Regions from separate parts of the Homo sapiens genome. Here all the other regions are linked to region 1. Evidence: promoter capture Hi-C in 16 types of primary human blood cells and fetal thymus (Javierre and others, 2016). All regions are on one chromosome and are shown on one strand. Each heading gives the region's core, a stretch centred on a gene start or on the middle of the fragment in contact. The rest is flanking DNA. Distances are from core to core; before and after follow the strand shown.

Region 1 (3,126 bases), core at 413-2,912:
CAAAGCCACCTCATCGTCCTGAATTTCCCAGTTCCCGGTTTCTCAGCTGTTCTTTCATGCATTCAAATAAAGACACACTCCGGTCTGAAGGGGAGGGCCCCGGGCCTGATATCCAGCCCCGTGGACCATGGTCGGCCATTCCTGGCCAACTGTACACTCTCCCCAGCCCAAATCCGGGGAGCTTCTGCCTTGCAGCTGGATTCAGCTCTAGCACCCCTTCTCCAAATGAGCTTTGCCTTGCCTGCCCGCAATGTCTCCCGAAACAAAATATGAGGGTGTGATCCATGCCCATCTCTCAGATCAGGGACTTCAAATTAGGGTGGTTAAGCCCCCTCCTGCCCTCTCTCCCTCCTCCTTGTTTTCCCTTCTCGTTTACCCCACCCAATTTTAATGTTCAATTAAAAGTCACCTCCAAAGACATCTGGGTAGCAGTGTCTAGCTTAATTCGAAAAGAAAACCCGGAGTTCCCAGGCTCAGGTCCCGCTTCTTGTCCCACCCATTCCCCTGGCTCCTAAAGCCCGCGATTTCTCACCTCGGGTAGGAACCCCAGCCTGAGGGGAAAGTCCCCTCGGTCTCCTAACTCTAGCTCCCTCCGCCCAGCCCTAGTCCCCTCCTAGGAGACAGAGGTGCAAAATAAACCCGCGCAAAGGGGAGGAGGCTAAAGGTTTCAGCCGCCCAGACCAAATGGATCCTGCGCCCGGGTCTGAGCGCACCCCAGGCCGGGTGGAGACGAGGGGCGAGGCGAGGCCAGTGCTCGGCCGCCCCCTCGTGGAAGGAGCCGCACATTGCCGAGCCTTGCCTACTTGCCGCGCTGGACCCCGGCGTCCCGCCAGCCTCCAAGCGTAGCCGACGGGCGGGTGCCCGAGGCCCTCGTGAGCTGGGATTGGGGGAAAGCAAGCGGGCTTTGGGCGGGAGTCCATCTCTCTGGATCCCTACAAGGACCCAGAAGAGAGTCGGGAGCGAGAGAGGCCGGACGCCTAGGTCTCCCGAGCGTCTCTCGCCCCTCCACCCCCACCTCGGGGCTTTCCCCACCTCCTCGAGGGGAAGCAGCTGGCGGAGCCGTCCGGTCGCAGGACAATGGAAGGAAACCAACTAGAAATCATATCCGCCCTCTCCGTACCCCGCCCGGCCAGAGCCCCCCTTTTTGTAGGCCCGGGTAGAGTAGCCTGTCATTCACACCACACCCTCCCCGTCTGAGACCCTACGGGAGCCCACTGTCGTCTGCCCAAACCTGCTGTCTCGTTGGGCTCCCCCTTTTCTCCCTTAACACAGTACAAGAGAGGGAGAGGGGGTTGCCGTATGCACTTTGTCCTGCAGCAAAGGTTGGCTCCTGGCAAACCCTCCCAAAAGCCAACACACCAATTTTCACTGGCCCAGGCCTTCCGACGACTCAGACTCCCGTATTGCCAACCTCGATATCCCTAACCTCCTCCCCAATTCCAATATCCCCGTCCTCGTGTCCACTTGCAGTGACCCAAGACCCCCTACGTTACGACCACCCCTTGTTTCTGAGGTCCCGCCCTCGAGACGGAGACCCCGCCCTGGACTCGCCATCTGGAGAGCGAGGGAGGAAGGAAGGATACAGACCCAGGCGTTCACCCCACCTCCACCCCCGCCCCCGACATCCCGGCCAGATAAAGGAGCCGAGGCCAAGAGGGGAGAGAGACCCCGCCCCCCTTAAGAAGAGAAGCCGCGGCCCCTGCAGGACGGGGGTAAGAACAAGAGACTGAGGGAGCCAGACTCCTGGGTCCCCCAAGAGGGTAGGAGCTTGTGTGGAGCTTGCCATCAGCGAGCCTGAGTCCCAGAAATTGGGCTAAACTAGGGATTGGGGACTAGATAGGAGTCGCAGAATTCCGTAGTTCGGGGAAGGGAGCCTCGGCTGGGATTTGGAGGTGTGTGGACGGCAGGCCGTGAGATCTCGAGGCAGGGTTGGACACCTGAGACACAGGCGCGCAGAGGGGAGTGGCGGTGCTGGAGGGGCACTGGGGGTCGAACCCAGGGCGATGGGCGCGGGATTCCCCACGCTCGCCAACGACGCCGCGGTGTGGAACCTTCAACTGGCTCCAAGCGCTGTGGGATCTGGAAGAGGCAAGGGAGCGAGGGTGTCGTAGAGGGCAGAATGAACAAGAAGAATTAGGAGGGAGGCTGCGTGTGCCGGGGCTAGGGGCTGGAAGTCCTGGCTCTAGTTGCACCTCGGAAGGAAAAGGCAAACAGAGGAGGGAAGGCGTCTTAGGACTGCCTGGATCCAGAGCACTTTCCACGGCCTCTACAGGCCTGTGTCGCTATGGGTTCCCCCGCCGCCCCGGAGGGAGCGCTGGGCTACGTCCGCGAGTTCACTCGCCACTCCTCCGACGTGCTGGGCAACCTCAACGAGCTGCGCCTGCGCGGGATCCTCACTGACGTCACGCTGCTGGTTGGCGGGCAACCCCTCAGAGCACACAAGGCAGTTCTCATCGCCTGCAGGTTCGAGGGGTGGGGCCTGGGGCGGGGCCAAATGGGAAAGGGGTGGGACCACAGGGCCGTTGAGAGGGAATCCGAAGCCAAGTCTTTCAGAAGCAGGAGGCGGAGCGTCCCAGAATTGGGGGCGGGGTGATAGTGAGGAGGCGGGACTTTTTCAGGGGGCGGGGCTTCCTGAAGCTGCGCATGTCTCCCTTGGTTCCCCAGCCCCCAAAGGACTTATCTGCTCTCTCTCTAGTGGCTTCTTCTATTCAATTTTCCGGGGCCGTGCGGGAGTCGGGGTGGACGTGCTCTCTCTGCCCGGGGGTCCCGAAGCGAGAGGCTTCGCCCCTCTATTGGACTTCATGTACACTTCGCGCCTGCGCCTCTCTCCAGCCACTGCACCAGCAGTCCTAGCGGCCGCCACCTATTTGCAGATGGAGCACGTGGTCCAGGCATGCCACCGCTTCATCCAGGCCAGGTGAGGGACCCTGGCTCGGCGTTCTCTGTGGGTGAGGTGTTAAGGGCAAAGGCAGAGTTTAGGAAATGGCACTAACGTTCATCACACTTTCCCCAGCTATGAACCTCTGGGCATCTCCCTGCGCCCCCTGGAAGCAGAACCCCCAACACCCCCAACGGCCCCTCCACCAGGTAGTCCCAGGCGCTCCGAAGGACACCCAGACCCACCTA
Region 2 (3,126 bases), core at 255-2,754, 190 kb before region 1:
ACTGTAAAATATATAATTAGAAATCTTTTTTACATCTCTTTGATATGGAGTGACCAACGAGATATATTAAATGAAAAAAGCAAGGTTCAGAAGAATTACATATATAGTATTTTACCATTGTTATGATAGAAAATGGTAAAATGTAATTGTTTGTGTACCCCTAGAATTTCTCCAGACAGATACATAAGAAACTGGTAACACTGGTTGCCTCTGGAAAGAGAACTGGATGGCTGGGGTGTGGAGGGTAAAGGAGGCTTCACTGAATAATCTTTTGCCTTTTGAGAGTTGTACAATTATTATCTCTTTTAAAAGAATATAAAAATGCAGAAACTCTTTATAATAAATGATTTCAGTAAATGAATGACACAAATACGGCAGCCGATAGAAGAGCAGGAGGTGTGAAAGCGTTGAGACAGAGCTAACTAGTTATTTTGAAACCAGAAGAATTCAGAGGGAGATGAACAGAGGCAGTATGTCTAGGAGACGACACACTTAGCCAGGGGCCTGAAGACTGGCTTCCAGCCTGGATCTCACCACGGACAAGCCTCAGGTTTCCCATCCTCGATAAATCTGTCATGCTATCCTGAGTATTTTATGGATGCAAAAGTGCTACCCAAACATCAGATCTTATTCACTTCTTATTTAACTGTCATACAGTGGCCACTGTGACCCTTGACCTCTGTTTTGGTAGCATTGCCAGTAGTATTGGGATCTGTGTCAACTTCCCCACTGAACTGCACCTAGATTGGGGGGAAAAGACTCCCTTCATATAATGGTATTGGTAAGATGTGAATTGTTTTCCATCTTAGGTTTCACTGTGGAGCAGTGAGTTCATTGATAAGAAACCACTAGCCCTTTATTCTTGCTATTCCTTATAATAAGTATCAATATCACAGGCCATTGTGCGAAGCTGGGCATTCAAGACCCTAGTGTTCTGCGTCTGTAGCGGGGACTTAGTCCCCTGTTGTATGACGCTAACCCCAAATTAGCAATTAACAAACATGATAACTTAAAAGCTTTTCATTGGAATTTTAACCTACCAAATAACTGTGATGTGCTTTTAAGAGGCCCTTAGGGGAATAAAAGGATATAAAGCATGTGCTTCCCCTTTGAAATAACAGATTTTCACTGCCAGTAAGGATGAAGAGATGTTCTCCACCATCTTTCTTTCAGGTGTTCACAGCAAATCAACAAGGAATAAAAAAATGGGAAAGATTCATAAGACACTGATCAATTACAGGACTGTATGGCACACACCAGGATGTCCCGGCACAGTTCACAAGCAAGGCTCCATTCAGGGTCCCCATTTCTCATTTCTAGAAGGTGGCTTTTCTCTGTAATTGACACCACAGTACAAAATAAATCAAAATCCTGAGGCTAGAAACAAGATAGTCAAGAATATGTGCAACATGTATTGATTTCTAGAAGTCGTCACGATATTTTAAAGTAGCTTCTTGTATAGAATTAAGTGGTGAAATGCTTCCTGTTTCTCGAATGATCACCACAACCACCATTTATCAAGCATGTATTATGTGCCAGGCACTGTGCTTGGGAGATATTATCCCATTTAATCTACACACAGCCCTTTAGGAGAGCTATGATTAATGACCCAATTTTTTAGAAGACAGGAGGCACAAAGAAGTTACTTACAGCTACTAAATGGTTAAAAAAAAGGAGGGGGCGGATTTTAATTACCTGACCCTAGAGCCTGCAATGCTAACCACTATACCCATTGTCGGAGCACTATATTGACTCACACGCTCCTAAGAGACAGGTTAGTCCTTTTCAAGGTAGTGCATAATGATCTTTTCAATGTGTAACGTTGGAGGCTTGACTAGACCTTTCTTAAGTCTTGTTCCTATTTGCCTCCAGGAGTTTGAGCAAAGTGGCCATTTCCTGCCCTTCATCACTTGCTGTATGGTTCTCCTTAAAGAAAAACCAGCCATGTGGGTGATCCTTTGAGCACCCCATCTGCCTCCACGGGCTCTCCTGTAAGCTTCTTCACCCAGCCAACAAGGTCCTGAGCAGAAGCCTTGTTTCCAGGCTGTCTCCTACGTCTGGAAGTCTGGGCTCTTGAATCACAACAGGATCTTGACTGCTTTGGCAATTTGAATTTGAGGATGATGAGCAGTGCCTCATCTCAAAAAATTACTGGAGTAACTTTTATGAAACTATTTTGTTTTCAGGGTCTAAGGTTTTTGCTTTGGAGACACTCAGGGAATATGTATCTACTCGTTCAGGCTTAGAAGGCTTGCTCTTGGCTGCTTTGTAGGCAACCAAACCAAATGTTGAACATATTCAGGGTTTTACCAAGTACTCCAAAAACAAGACCAAATATAATCAAAAGTAAGCAAGAAAGAAATGGTGAGATGGCTTTAAAATGACACCTGCATGCACAATGTTATTCATTTCAGCATCGCTGGTAATAGGAAAAGACTAGAAGCAACTTACATGCCCATCAGTAGGTGTCTTGCTAAACAAATTATGGCACATCCTTACCATTGGAAACCATGAAGCTACAAAAGAATGAGGAAGGACCTTTTGTAGCCAAACGAAATGACCTCTAAAGGATAATTTTCAGTGAAAAACAATAAAAAATCAATGTGATCCTCCTGCCTCAGCCTCCTGAGTAGCTGAAGCAGAAAGGTTGATATTATCTATTTTGTCCTCAAAAATATTTCTATAAATAAGAGGGGAGGAAGAAAACATATATACATATTTGCTTGTAAATGCATAAATATTTCTGGAAGGATACACAAGAAACTGGTGACCTTGGCTGACTGTGAAGCAAACTAGGTGTCCAGGGAGAGTGGTAGAAGGAGACTTTTCACTGAATACCCTTTTGTGTCTTTTACACTTTGAACCATACACATGTATGTACTACCTTTGCAAAAATAATAATTGAATTTTATTTTATTATTATTAAAATTAGTTCTAGACCAGTATTGATAAGTAGGAACAAGATAGAAAGTCTTATAACAAATAAGACAAAGGGCTAGAATATTTCAGTTACAGTGATAGGCTATGAACCGGGTCAGGACTAGCCAGTTAAAAGAGTCACTACATTTGGTCATTTGCTGTAAAGAAAGCCGAAATCAAATCGGTGCTTTGGTAAAGCCATTACAT
Region 3 (3,126 bases), core at 413-2,912, 170 kb before region 1:
GGGACAAACCCTATCAGCAGCTGCTTTTAATATTTAAAAAAATATTTTGAGAGAGGGCCCACAGACCCTCTGAAAGAAGCAGACTGCTCCTGCAGGACCCGGGGGACACCCCAAATACTGTGAGTGCCCCAACTGCGGAAGTGGGAAAGGGAGACCCTCCTTTCCGGAACACACACCCCCTACTGGAGAAGCTGAAGGTCTGCTTCCGGGAGATGCTCCCGACTTCACCTGGAGCTGAGTCAAGTTAGAGAACCGGACCAAGCGAAATACAGGGGCAGAGGAGGCAGCAGGGAGGCCCTGGGAGCTCTTTGAATCCCCAGGTAGCCTATTCCTGCCTGGCACCACTGGGATTCATCAGGAGGGAGGCCAGAGGAGCAGGAGGTAAAACCCTACCGGGAGAAGGACTTCCCTAGCTGAATTTTGTAACAATTTGAGTGGGGCGAGAAGCCTCCTGGCCGGAACTTGGGGGAGGATGCGGATCTGGCTTGCAGACTTCACAGGTGGGGGAAGAACTAAAGCCCTTTTCTTTCACAGGTGGGAGGCGGAAAGCCTCGGGCAAGTTTTCAAGCCCGTCCTCTGTCTGGAAACAGACTCAGAGGTGTTGCAGGGGACACGGTGGGAGTGAGACCAGCCCTTCGGTGTGCGTGGGATCTGGGGGAGGCCTGTGACTGCCGGCTTTCCCCTGCTTCTCTGACAACCTGCATGACTCAGCAGAGGCAGCCATAATCCTGGAGAGCCCCGGTTTAAGATCTCCAGGTGAAGTAGATTTTTATTGTAAGTAACTCCTGTACTTTTTAAGTTGTGAGACATGCATTCAAGGTTGAATTCTGAAATCATGTCTGAATTAACTTCACTGGAGTCTTCTGTTGCCCTTATAGAGTAGGGAATTCTCATAGTTCTGCTAGTAATTGTTTTTTGAGGGGGCAGGTGTGGTCTAACAAGGAAAGGCTAGAGAGCAATTAGGACCAAGGGAAAGACCTTGGGCCATGGAAGGTTGAGTTCTCTGAAAGTTTTAAAAATATAAATATGTATTTTTACTCTAGAGATGCGGTCTCACTAAGTTGTCCAGGCTGGTCTCAAGTAATCCTCCTGCCTTAGCCTCCCAAAGTTCTGGGATTACAGGAATGAGCCACCACACCTGGCCTCACCTCAGAACGTTTTGAAAATTTTAGTTTTGTCTGTTTGCTTGTTCAATCATTCTGCATGACTGGATATGGTGAGGATCATGTAATTTGGGGGACAGAGGAAGAACTCTTGGATTTTTTTGGATGACTTTACTGGTGCGATGAGTTCCCTGGTCACTTGACAGGGCAAGTAGAATTCCTCAGGAGGGGAAAATTTGTTCTAAGAGAACAAACAGTTGCAGCTGTGGGCTTCTTACGTGGAAAAGCTTCTAGTCAATAAGTGAACATAAAAACAATGGCCAGGGCATATTAATAACACTGACTTAGGAAGTTGAATAAAATATCTTTGCCAATAGAGAAAGAGTCCTGCTAGAGGTGGCTCTCTTCCTCGTTCTACCTTTATAACTTTTCCAGGATTCTGTTGTTGGCAGATATTCCAAGTAAGGAGTGAAGTTTCCCCACAAATGATGATGAAGGCATTGAGTCAGTATTTTCCCATGATGAAAAATTTTGTGAAGACTGAACTTCAGGTCAGGGACGAAGGAGAGCCCAAGTAGCCTTCTCAGTGTCTTCAAAGCCTATCTTTGGACTTTTTGGTGGGTAAAACATCCACCTTGTTTTCAATTAGCCTTTTCATCTTCAGGGGCCTTTAACTGAGATATTTTAATGTCCTCAAATAGAGGATAAATTGGCAAACTGAGTAGGTTTAATATCTGGTCTGATTACAGTGGGACTGGGACAGATTTATAAACTGCTACTTAGCATACTTATCAGCTGAGCTTCCCCTTGCCTTAGGGGTCTATTGCCCATATAAGCTTCTATCTTGAGTATGGCCAGCTCTTGTAATAATAAGGCCTCTAGGAGGTTACCCACATTTCCCATTTTAAACTAGTAGTCACAAATTCCCTGGCTTTCCACAACAGGTCAAAGTCATGTAATACCCTAAAAACATATCTGTTATCTGTGTTGATGTTAACTCTTTGATTCTTAGCTAAAGTGTAGGTTCTTGTGAGAGCCACAAATTATTCTATCTGATATAATTTGCACTGGGTAAAGCCTCATATGTTATGGGACTGTGGATATATGCAATGGCATATTCAGCCTGGAAACCTCTTTCTGAAGTCAGAGGTATGAACTATCAACAAAGAAAATGAGATCTGGATCTATAAGAGGTACTTCAGAAAGATCAGGACGGGGAAAGGTTAGAGCTTAGGTGGCTGAAATACAGTCATGGTGGTTGTACTTCAGTTGGGAGAGAAATGGTAACAAGGTTAAGATTTTGGTAATGGTGAATAGTAATGTGAGAAGGAGCAAACAAAAGGATCTCATAAGAGGTAAGGTTAGAGGTTGAAAAACGTTGGGGGTTCGCAGTCAGGACAAAGATGTGAACCACTTGGGCACAGAAGTGTGCGAAGTATGACCTAGCACAAAATCAACTGTGGCTTGAATCAAATTTGCTGTTGCCATGACAACTCAGAAGCAAGGAAGGAAGGCTTGAGCTATAGGGCCTAGCAAGAAGGTAAAATATCCAATGGGCCTCAGGCTCCTTTTGTATTTCTGAGACAGGACATCTAAAGTATGTTCTCTCTCATGAATGAATAGGCAGAAGGGCAAGGAGTAGTTGGGGAGTCCCAAGCTGGGGGAAGAGGAAAGGGAGGTTTTTAAAAGGATCCAATACTGTTATAGAGGTTAATTCTCGTTCTAGGGGTTCAGACAAGGAATCCACATTCTACAATAGCCAACCAGTCTGAGAAAGTCCAGGAGTTGTCTCATTGTTTTAGATAAAGTGTAATTAAGGATGCTTTTCATACATCTGGAGACAAAGTTTTTCCCTTACAGGAGATGTCATGTTTTAGAGAGTGAAACTGAAAATAGGAAAACTAAGGATAGTGAAATTATATTTTGTCTCTTGAAAACAATGTCCCTTTTAAGTCAGATCATCCAAAAGGTATCGAGTATCTGCCAATAAATTATCAAATGTACTGGAGCAAAGAAGGTGGAC

The links. Contacts are between HindIII fragments. The CHiCAGO score rates a contact against its expected background, and 5 or more counts as called.
Region 2: a contact is called between a fragment that was not itself captured here and the fragment with the promoter of BCL6B in region 1, in 1 of 17 cell types (megakaryocytes). The highest score is 5.7, in megakaryocytes.
Region 3: a contact is called between a fragment that was not itself captured here and the fragment with the promoter of BCL6B in region 1, in 1 of 17 cell types (erythroblasts). The highest score is 5.1, in erythroblasts.

Annotation. Positions count from the first base shown.
Region 1 is chr17:7,021,388-7,024,513 of GRCh38, forward strand. It overlaps BCL6B (BCL6B transcription repressor), which reads left to right and starts at 1,663. Exons shown (of 9, transcript NM_181844.4): 1 at 1,663-1,712; 2 at 2,273-2,463; 3 at 2,696-2,917; 4 at 3,014-3,126. The coding sequence starts at 2,285. RefSeq lists a silencer at 617-756. The HindIII fragment of the contact is 4,378 bases long and covers 1-3,126 here.
Region 2 is chr17:6,834,457-6,837,582 of GRCh38, forward strand. No RefSeq gene overlaps it. Among named protein-coding and RNA genes, the nearest start is that of TEKT1, 4.3 kb to the left of the region's middle. The HindIII fragment of the contact is 980 bases long and covers 1,015-1,994 here.
Region 3 is chr17:6,853,680-6,856,805 of GRCh38, forward strand. It overlaps the pseudogene ALOX12P2. Among named protein-coding and RNA genes, the nearest start is that of TEKT1, 24 kb to the left of the region's middle. RefSeq lists an enhancer at 99-1,298. The HindIII fragment of the contact is 549 bases long and covers 1,389-1,937 here.